Linked DNA regions of Homo sapiens: all the other regions are linked to region 3. Evidence: promoter capture Hi-C in 16 types of primary human blood cells and fetal thymus (Javierre and others, 2016). All regions are on one chromosome and are shown on one strand. The core of a region is centred on a gene start or on the middle of the fragment in contact, and the rest is flanking DNA. Distances in the headings are between cores, read along the strand shown. Region 1 overlaps LOC101927825 (a long non-coding RNA gene). Region 2 holds the start of OR52N4 (olfactory receptor family 52 subfamily N member 4). Region 3 holds the start of OR52I1 (olfactory receptor family 52 subfamily I member 1).

Region 1 (2,904 bases), core at 199-2,698, 1.8 Mb after region 3:
CTTGTCACCCAGGCTGGAGTGTAATGGTGTGATCTTGGCTGACTGCAACCTCCACCTCCTGGGTTCAAGCGATTCTCTTGCCTCAGCCTCCTGAGTAGCGGGGATTACAGGCACCCACCACCACGCCCAGCTAATTTTTGAATTTTTAGTAGAGACGGGGTTTCACCATGTTGGCCAGGCTGGACTCGAACTCCTGACCTCAGGTGATCCACCTGCCTCGGCCTACCAAAGTACTGGGATTACAGGTGTGAGCCACCATGCCTGGCCTCATAGTTTAATTCCTTGAGCAATAAAGAGAGGGAGCATCTAACTGGTAGCCTTGGGTCAGATCTAATCAGCTGTTGCCCAGGGGTAATGAAATGAGATGAAAGTCGGTTATGGCCCACTCTTACAGGATCTGTGGTCCAGGTAGGTACAGAAGTTTATCTAATCAAAGTAGCTAGCCTATTTATTCTCAGTGGTTGTTGGAGGATTTCAGGGCACTGATATCCCAATTTCTTGTTCTAGTTCTCAACGAACTGGGAAATAAAGTAAAAGAATAAGGTAATAAGAGGCCGGGCATGGTGACTCACACCTGTAATCCCAGCACTTTGGGAGGCCGAGGCAGGCAGATCGCCTGAGGTCAGGAGTTCGAGACCAGCCTGGCCAACATAGCAAAACCCCATCTTTACTAAAAATACAAAAATTAGCCAGGCGTGGTGGCAGGCACCTGTGATCCCAGCTATTCAGGAGACTGAGGGAGGAGAATCGCTTGAACCCGGGAGGTGGAGGTTGCAGTGAGCCGAGATCATCCACTGCACTCCAGCTTGGGTAACAGAGCAAGACTGTCTCAAAAAAAAAAAAAAAAACAAGGTAATAAGAGATCAAAACCACAGTATTACTGATAAAATTCACATTGGCAAATGTGGCTTTATCATTTAGCAAATGGGTCCCTTGATTCTGAACACCAGAATTAGGGAGACTAACCCACCCACTCACAGATGGTATACAAAAATTATAGCTTCCCCCTTGATTTATATAGAGGAATCAATATTGACCATGAGTTTATTATTGTTAAAGTGGGTAATGGGTACGTGAATCTTTATACTATTATCTCTCCTATTTAAGTACTCTGCATTTAATAACTTTTTGGAGTAAATCTAATCGTGCAGTTATATCTTCCCCCAACGCTCTGAGAGAGAGATATCAGAAACATTCTCTTCTTTTTGCAAAGTGTAGAAATTTGCAATGATGCCACCTCAGTCATTAGGCCTTATTGAAGGGATTTTTTAATTTCCATCCAGCCTGCTCAAATTTTCCTATACAGTTCAATACACTGATTGAGGCCAGGCGCGGTGGCTCACACCTGTAATCCCAGCACTTCGGGAGGCCAGACGGGTGGATCACGAGGTCAGGAGATCGAGAACATCCTGGCTAACATGGTGAAACCCCATCTCTACTAAAAATACAAAAAATTATCCGGGTGTGGTGGTGGGCACCTGTAGTCCCAGCTACTCGGGAGGCTGAGGCAGGAGAATGGCGAGAACCCGGGAGGCAGAGCTTGCAGTGAGCCGAGATCGAGCCACTGCACTCCAGCCTGGGCGACAGAGCAAGACTCCATCTCCCAAAAAAAAAAAAAAAATACACTGATTGAGCCCCAAGCTCTGGCATCCCAGTGTACCCCAAGTGCATGCCTGTTGTGTTGCAGCTTCCAAGACTATAGCGCTCTGATGCATTGAGATGACAGCAAGCGGCATTTTTCAGTCCTGTTACCCATATGGCTGCTACCACTGCATCCTGTTAAATAATGTCTTCAACCCAAGAAACCTGCTTCCTAGGGAAGTTTCTCTCTCTCTGCATTTGTTCCCACTAGAGAATGACCATCACCAGATTCCTGAACTGAAAATGCTGTTGACACTTTGGAAACTCGGGCCTCTATTAATAGGGTGACCAACTATCCTGGTTTACCTTGAGTACAGGATTTTCAATGCTAAAACCAGAAAAACCAGGATGGTTGGTCATCTGCCTCAGACCTAATAAATACCAGTCAATAATTCAGCCATGAGCTTTCTTAAGACACTGTCTTTTCTTGACTGTTGAATAGTCTAGGACTTGAGTAGCAGCTCTTTCTGCTACTGGACACTTGTTTTACTACCCTATTTCTCTAGATTTTATTTTGTGGCTAATAATTAAGACATAAAATCATGGGTTCTGGTTATGCCAAAGCACTCACTCTTCAAAAGTTTCCATCCAGAGTTGGATAATCCCACACAGAAGGTGTTCTTTCAACAGACCAGCATCCAATAGACCCAATGCAGCATTTTTCTTCCTGGTTCCACATTAATACATCCTATCTCTGCTATGCTTAGGTCCCTGATTTATAAATATTTCAGACATATTTTCTCAGGACACAGGGAGTACTTAAACTTCCACATAGCAGAGATACGACATACAATAAGCTGTTATCTGGAAACTCCTAGTGATGCTTTGAGTACTTTACAGTAATCTTTCTGGTCTTCCTCTCAACCCCATTAAGTTTTTCTGTAACTAGCTGGTGTATCTGTCTCCATCTTTAAGGAATAAGTCCCTATTTGCTCATGCTATAATCTCCCTCATGCTCTCCGTCCCTCCTTCCCTCTCCTTCTCTCTTTCTGTCTCTCTCTCTCTCCACCCTGATTGTGAGATGCTACACCTTAATAGTTTTCTATACCTAGATCCCTTTTGAAGGAGTAATTTCAGCCATCACTGAAATCTATGCTTTTTTATCTTGTTAGATTTATTTAGGACCTAATGACTGTTTCTGAGCTAATAATAACGCAATCAGCTCATATTTTTCTGATACTCTAAGAGCAATTACATCTAGTTGCATCACCTTTTCCTTTTTTATTCATGTATCTTAGGCTTCTCAAGATATGAGACTAGCAC
Region 2 (3,105 bases), core at 552-3,051, 1.2 Mb after region 3:
GGATGAATACCTCCTCTGATGGGGCACAAAAGAGAGTTCATTTGGTGGCACTCATGATTCCTATGGTGTTAATTTTTGTAAGCATTGCCAAAATGGCTGCCAGCCTGAGTAGAAAATACAAATATGGGTATTGAGCACTTAAAATGTGGTAGCATGTTTTAACATATTACGTCCTTTAATCCTCTTGGCAATTTAATTTTTGTTATTATAAATTCTAACATACATATGCAATTTTACAATTAATCCAATTACATGTTGATTGATTTTTACAACCTGAATCTTGTATATCTCACAACCAAATCAAGTAAGGGAATATGACCAGCAACTAACAGGACCCTTCTACCACATACTGCCTTTCAGTTATCACTCTCTCTCACTTTTTAAAAAGATTTTTCTATTTCTAATAGCACAGAATAATTTGATCCGTTTTTGTATTTCATTTAAAGATCACAAGATGTTACATCTATTTTAAGTCTTTCTAAAAAAAATTAACACATATTGTGAGATTCGTCTATATTATGCATATAGTCATAGATTGTTTATTCTTATTGTTACGTGGTATTTCATTGTGGGAATGTACCAAAATTTATTTACCCATTTGATGTTGATGAACATTTAGGTTTTTTCCAGTTTTAGGCTATACTACAAATCATGTTTCAATAAGCATTCTAATTGATGTATTCTAGTAAATATATATACATAGTTTTGTTGGAAATGGCAATGGTGGTCATGTGTATGTTTATCATTATGAGATATCTAATAAAGAGTTGTTCTAATTTACATGTCTACCAGCAGTAAATGAGAGTTCCAGTTGTTCTACATCTTTGCCAATGCTTGGTATTTTTAGTTCTTTTCATTTTAGCTGTCCTGTTTGGTATGTCACTACATACCAAAAAAAGGTGCTTTGTCATGAGAGATACAATTTTTACTTATTTTTCTGATTAATATAAAAGTTTGTGCCTATTTACCTGTTCATTGGCAATTTTATTTCTCTTTTGAAGTGTATGTTTCTTCCTGCAACTTTTTCTTACTGATGTTGTTGAAGTACTTTATATATTTTCTGTATGTATGCATTTGGATATCTTCTAGTTTGCGTTGACTAGATACATAAAGAACAAGAAAGATATCTTGAAAAGTGAAAAAATTGAATCAAAACTTCATTGACTTTTTTAATTTTAAATTTTTGTGGGCACATAGTAGGTGTATATATTTATGGGTGTATGAGATATTTTGATAGAAGCATACAATGTGTAATAATCCCTTTTAAAGGGCCGGGCACAGTGGCTCATGCCTGTAATCCCAGCACTTTGGGAGCCTGATGTGGGTGGATTACCTGAGGTCAGGAGTTGGAGACCAACCTGACCAATATAGTGAAACCCCATCTCTGCTAAAAATACAAAAATTAGCTGGGCGTGGTGGCATGTGCCTGTAGTCGCAGCTACTCGGGAGGCTAAGACAGGAGAATTGCTTGAATCCGGGAGGTGGAGGTTGCAGCCAAGATTGCGCCACTGCACTCCAGCCTGGGCAACAAAGCAAGACTCTGCCTCAAAAAAAAAAAAAAAAAAAAAAAAAAATCCCAGTAAAGTAAATAGGGGTATCCATCATCTCAAACATTTATCCTTTGTGTTACAGACAACCCAATTATATTATTTTAGTTATTTTAAAATATACAATTAAATTATTATTGAGTATAGACACCCAATAAATTTACTAATTTTTGAGACCCCAAGCTTCATTGAGTAATAATTTAATTAAAATTTCAAAATTCTTTGAACAGTGCCTGAGTACCCAAGAATAAATATCAGTCAGTCATTAAGAATAAAAATTAAAAAGTCAACATCTCATCTCTCAGATCATCAGTGAGGTAATCAAATGACTCTTCTTTAAAATTATATCTATATTGAGATGAGTATAGTTATAGTTAAGTAAGATATTCTAATAAAAATACCATTTGAAAAGTCAGAATTATACTTGATTATAAATCTATGAGATTGGGAATATGTCTTTTTATAAAATAATTGATGTTTGATTGGCATCTGTGTTGAAAACTTAGACTGCTCAATAAGAATTTTTTACTGAATCAATTAATTAATCAATCAATAAAACTAAACAGACAAACAAAATTATTTCTTGGCACTCAGAAATTTGGTTGTTGGACCATTAAAATGCATTATGGAATTTTTAAAAGTTGGGGGAGAGGGAGACAGTAAAAATAACCTATATTTTCTCTTGTTTTTTTTTTTAACTCTAGGAAAGCCCAGACAAATTTTGAGCTATTTCATAACCTACCAGACTTATCATGCTAACACTGAATAAAACAGACCTAATACCAGCTTCATTTATTCTGAATGGAGTCCCAGGACTGGAAGACACACAACTCTGGATTTCCTTCCCATTCTGCTCTATGTATGTTGTGGCTATGGTAGGGAATTGTGGACTCCTCTACCTCATTCACTATGAGGATGCCCTGCACAAACCCATGTACTACTTCTTGGCCATGCTTTCCTTTACTGACCTTGTTATGTGCTCTAGTACAATCCCTAAAGCCCTCTGCATCTTCTGGTTTCATCTCAAGGACATTGGATTTGATGAATGCCTTGTCCAGATGTTCTTCACCCACACCTTCACAGGGATGGAGTCTGGGGTGCTTATGCTTATGGCCCTGGATCGCTATGTGGCCATCTGCTACCCCTTACGCTATTCAACTATCCTCACCAATCCTGTAATTGCAAAGGTTGGGACTGCCACCTTCCTGAGAGGGGTATTACTCATTATTCCCTTTACTTTCCTCACCAAGCTCCTGCCCTACTGCAGAGGCAATATACTTCCCCATACCTACTGTGACCACATGTCTGTAGCCAAATTGTCCTGTGGTAATGTCAAGGTCAATGCCATCTATGGTCTGATGGTTGCCCTCCTGATTTGGGGCTTTGACATACTGTGTATCACCAACTCCTATACCATGATTCTCCGGGCAGTGGTCAGCCTCTCCTCAGCAGATGCTCGGCAGAAGGCCTTTAATACCTGCACTGCCCACATTTGTGCCATTGTTTTCTCCTATACTCCAGCTTTCTTCTCCTTCTTTTCCCACCGCTTTGGGGAACA
Region 3 (2,939 bases), core at 240-2,739:
GGAGCCTCCCCTTGTAAGGAGTCTTCTCAGATGGCAGGGAAAATGTGCCTATGACCAAACACCATATGAATATGAAATCATGGAAACCAATCATCCTAAGGAGAGAGTAACTAAACAGCTATCACACAGGAATAGAATGGTAGTTAATGCTGACTTCTTTATATTCAGGTTTCCCCACTTAGATTGTTACATATTATATGATATGGTAACACCTGAATGAGGCAATGGAGGGTGAATACATCAATAAACAGAGATGAACAAGTGGTAGAGCTCAGCTGCTGGCTGTGCACAGCAGTAGCTATCTTTGTCTCATCAAACGTGGCCAAGTGAAACCCCTAACCTTGTTTTATCCATAGTTGTCTTGTTGACTATTTATGTTGGGCTGGATGGACACCTGGGAGTCATAGCTTAAACCCAAAACTTACCACACACGTACTACATGATCTTGGCTAGAATATTTAATCTAAGTTATACAAACTGTGTTGTATGGAATGGATGTTTGTCTTATATTACAAATGGAGAAATACACTCAGATTATGAATACTACACTTTTAACATAGTACTGGCACATACTGTGTTAATAATAAAGTGCTTAACTTTCTAAAGGATAAAGCTTTCTTGTTTGGAACATCTTGGTTATCAGGAAGAGGGAGTTAGTTGTATTAAAGAACCATAACAACTTATTGGGGAGGGGGGGTCATCTATAAGGTAACCCTAAGATTTTCCTTGTAGTAATTTAATCTATTAACTGAACCAAAGTGAATAGGATCCAGGGTAAATTTAGAGAAGGTAAGGATTATATTTATTTATAGATAATTTATAATCACCTGTAAAATGTGATAATGTTATTCTCTAATGGTTTTATTTTACTGAACTTACTAACGTACTTCATGAATCACAAGAATGCTGAATTTATGTTTTGTCTATGCAATATGCTGAGCATATAAAATGTGATGTTTGTTTTCAAGAAGTTCTGGTTTCAACATTTAGTAACAGCACACAGAGATAAGTCATTCTTTCCTCTGTTAATCGTTCTTTCTGTGGAAATTGTTTACTGTAATGAGTATATATATCTTCACTCAAGTGACTTGTGACCACAGCTATGGATCACAATCTTCCTATAAGGCACTTGAGTGAATACCATAAACTCATACAGTACTGGAATTGTCGATTTAGTCCCTACAGGAGATTTCAGGAAACTGCAAAAGAGGTAATTAACTTAACCTGGGCATGGGGTTGGGTGAGGAAGAGAGCAGAACACAAGTCCCTAAGGAAGGAATTCACGAGCTGATCCTTCAACAATGAATAGAAACTTGTAAGGAGGATGAAAAGTAGCACAGTATTAGAAGTCATTTTTCTGATCCTGCCATACCACCAAGCTGAGAATATCCCTAGGTTTTCCCAGCACCACAAAGAGGAACTAATCTTATAGGACTGCACCATTCTCTTACATCATCTATACATTAATAGGCAAGAAGTCTCACCTGTGATGCTGGGTCCAGCTTACAACCACACAATGGAAACCCCTGCCTCCTTCCTCCTTGTGGGTATCCCAGGACTGCAATCTTCACATCTTTGGCTGGCTATCTCACTGAGTGCCATGTACATCACAGCCCTGTTAGGAAACACCCTCATCGTGACTGCAATCTGGATGGATTCCACTCGGCATGAGCCCATGTATTGCTTTCTGTGTGTTCTGGCTGCTGTGGACATTGTTATGGCCTCCTCCGTGGTACCCAAGATGGTGAGCATCTTCTGCTCGGGAGACAGCTCCATCAGCTTTAGTGCTTGTTTCACTCAGATGTTTTTTGTCCACTTAGCCACAGCTGTGGAGACGGGGCTGCTGCTGACCATGGCTTTTGACCGCTATGTAGCCATCTGCAAGCCTCTACACTACAAGAGAATTCTCACGCCTCAAGTGATGCTGGGAATGAGTATGGCCGTCACCATCAGAGCTGTCACATTCATGACTCCACTGAGTTGGATGATGAATCATCTACCTTTCTGTGGCTCCAATGTGGTTGTCCACTCCTACTGTAAGCACATAGCTTTGGCCAGGTTAGCATGTGCTGACCCCGTGCCCAGCAGTCTCTACAGTCTGATTGGTTCCTCTCTTATGGTGGGCTCTGATGTGGCCTTCATTGCTGCCTCCTATATCTTAATTCTCAGGGCAGTATTTGATCTCTCCTCAAAGACTGCTCAGTTGAAAGCATTAAGCACATGTGGCTCCCATGTGGGGGTTATGGCTTTGTACTATCTACCTGGGATGGCATCCATCTATGCGGCCTGGTTGGGGCAGGATATAGTGCCCTTGCACACCCAAGTGCTGCTAGCTGACCTGTACGTGATCATCCCAGCCACTTTAAATCCCATCATCTATGGCATGAGGACCAAACAATTGCTGGAGGGAATATGGAGTTATCTGATGCACTTCCTCTTTGACCACTCCAACCTGGGTTCATGAACACAATATCTGTTCAGATCCAGAGCATTCTAGCCAACTTCAAAGATGCCTCAGAGATCTGTGGAGCTGGATTGGTTTACCTGGTACTATAAGGAAATCTGAGATGAAGCTATAAAGGATATCTTTGTGTAACTTTTAAATTTCTACCAATAATATGAATGAAATGTTTCTAATTTTCTGACATTTTTAATGGGTTAATATGATAGTGTCTGAATCAGAGTAAGTTTGGTATAGAATACAGCTCTGTAATTTTTCCTTCTATAGCTTCTGACCTATATTTCCTACCTAATATCCTACCATCCCCTCTGCTGAAGAGACCAACTGTTTGGTATCTTCCCCTTAACCTGACTGATATTCTCAGAACTGTTCTTTCCTCCAAGTGATTACATGGAAGAAGCTATTAATATATGACCCTGCCCTCTGGCCCAATAGTGATCTCACTCCATTTGGGTCCTAATGCCCACACCTAGACCAG

Evidence for each region. The method cuts DNA at HindIII sites, captures the fragments that hold promoters and counts their contacts. A CHiCAGO score of 5 or more calls a contact.
Region 1: a fragment that was not itself captured here is called in contact with the fragment with the promoter of OR52I1 in region 3 in 1 of 17 cell types (naive CD8 T cells); the score reaches 5.4 in naive CD8 T cells.
Region 2: the fragment with the promoter of OR52N4 here is called in contact with the fragment with the promoter of OR52I1 in region 3 in 1 of 17 cell types (naive CD8 T cells); the score reaches 5.0 in naive CD8 T cells.

The regions. Positions count from the first base shown.
Region 1 is chr11:6,342,729-6,345,632 of GRCh38, forward strand. LOC101927825 (a long non-coding RNA gene) reads left to right here. Exons shown (of 7, transcript XR_930998.4): 7 at 1,688-2,904. Among named protein-coding and RNA genes, the nearest start is that of CAVIN3, 24 kb to the left of the region's middle. The HindIII fragment of the contact is 3,393 bases long and covers 1-2,904 here.
Region 2 is chr11:5,752,442-5,755,546 of GRCh38, forward strand. It overlaps OR52N4 (olfactory receptor family 52 subfamily N member 4), which reads left to right and starts at 1,802. Exons shown (of 2, transcript NM_001005175.5): 1 at 1,802-1,864; 2 at 2,252-3,105. The coding sequence starts at 2,300. The HindIII fragment of the contact is 4,248 bases long and covers 1,729-3,105 here.
Region 3 is chr11:4,592,550-4,595,488 of GRCh38, forward strand. It overlaps OR52I1 (olfactory receptor family 52 subfamily I member 1), which reads left to right and starts at 1,490. Exons shown (of 1, transcript NM_001005169.1): 1 at 1,490-2,464. The coding sequence starts at 1,490. The coding sequence ends at 2,464. It overlaps OR52I2 (olfactory receptor family 52 subfamily I member 2), which reads left to right. Exons shown (of 2, transcript NM_001405760.1): 2 at 1-791. The HindIII fragment of the contact is 4,139 bases long and covers 612-2,939 here.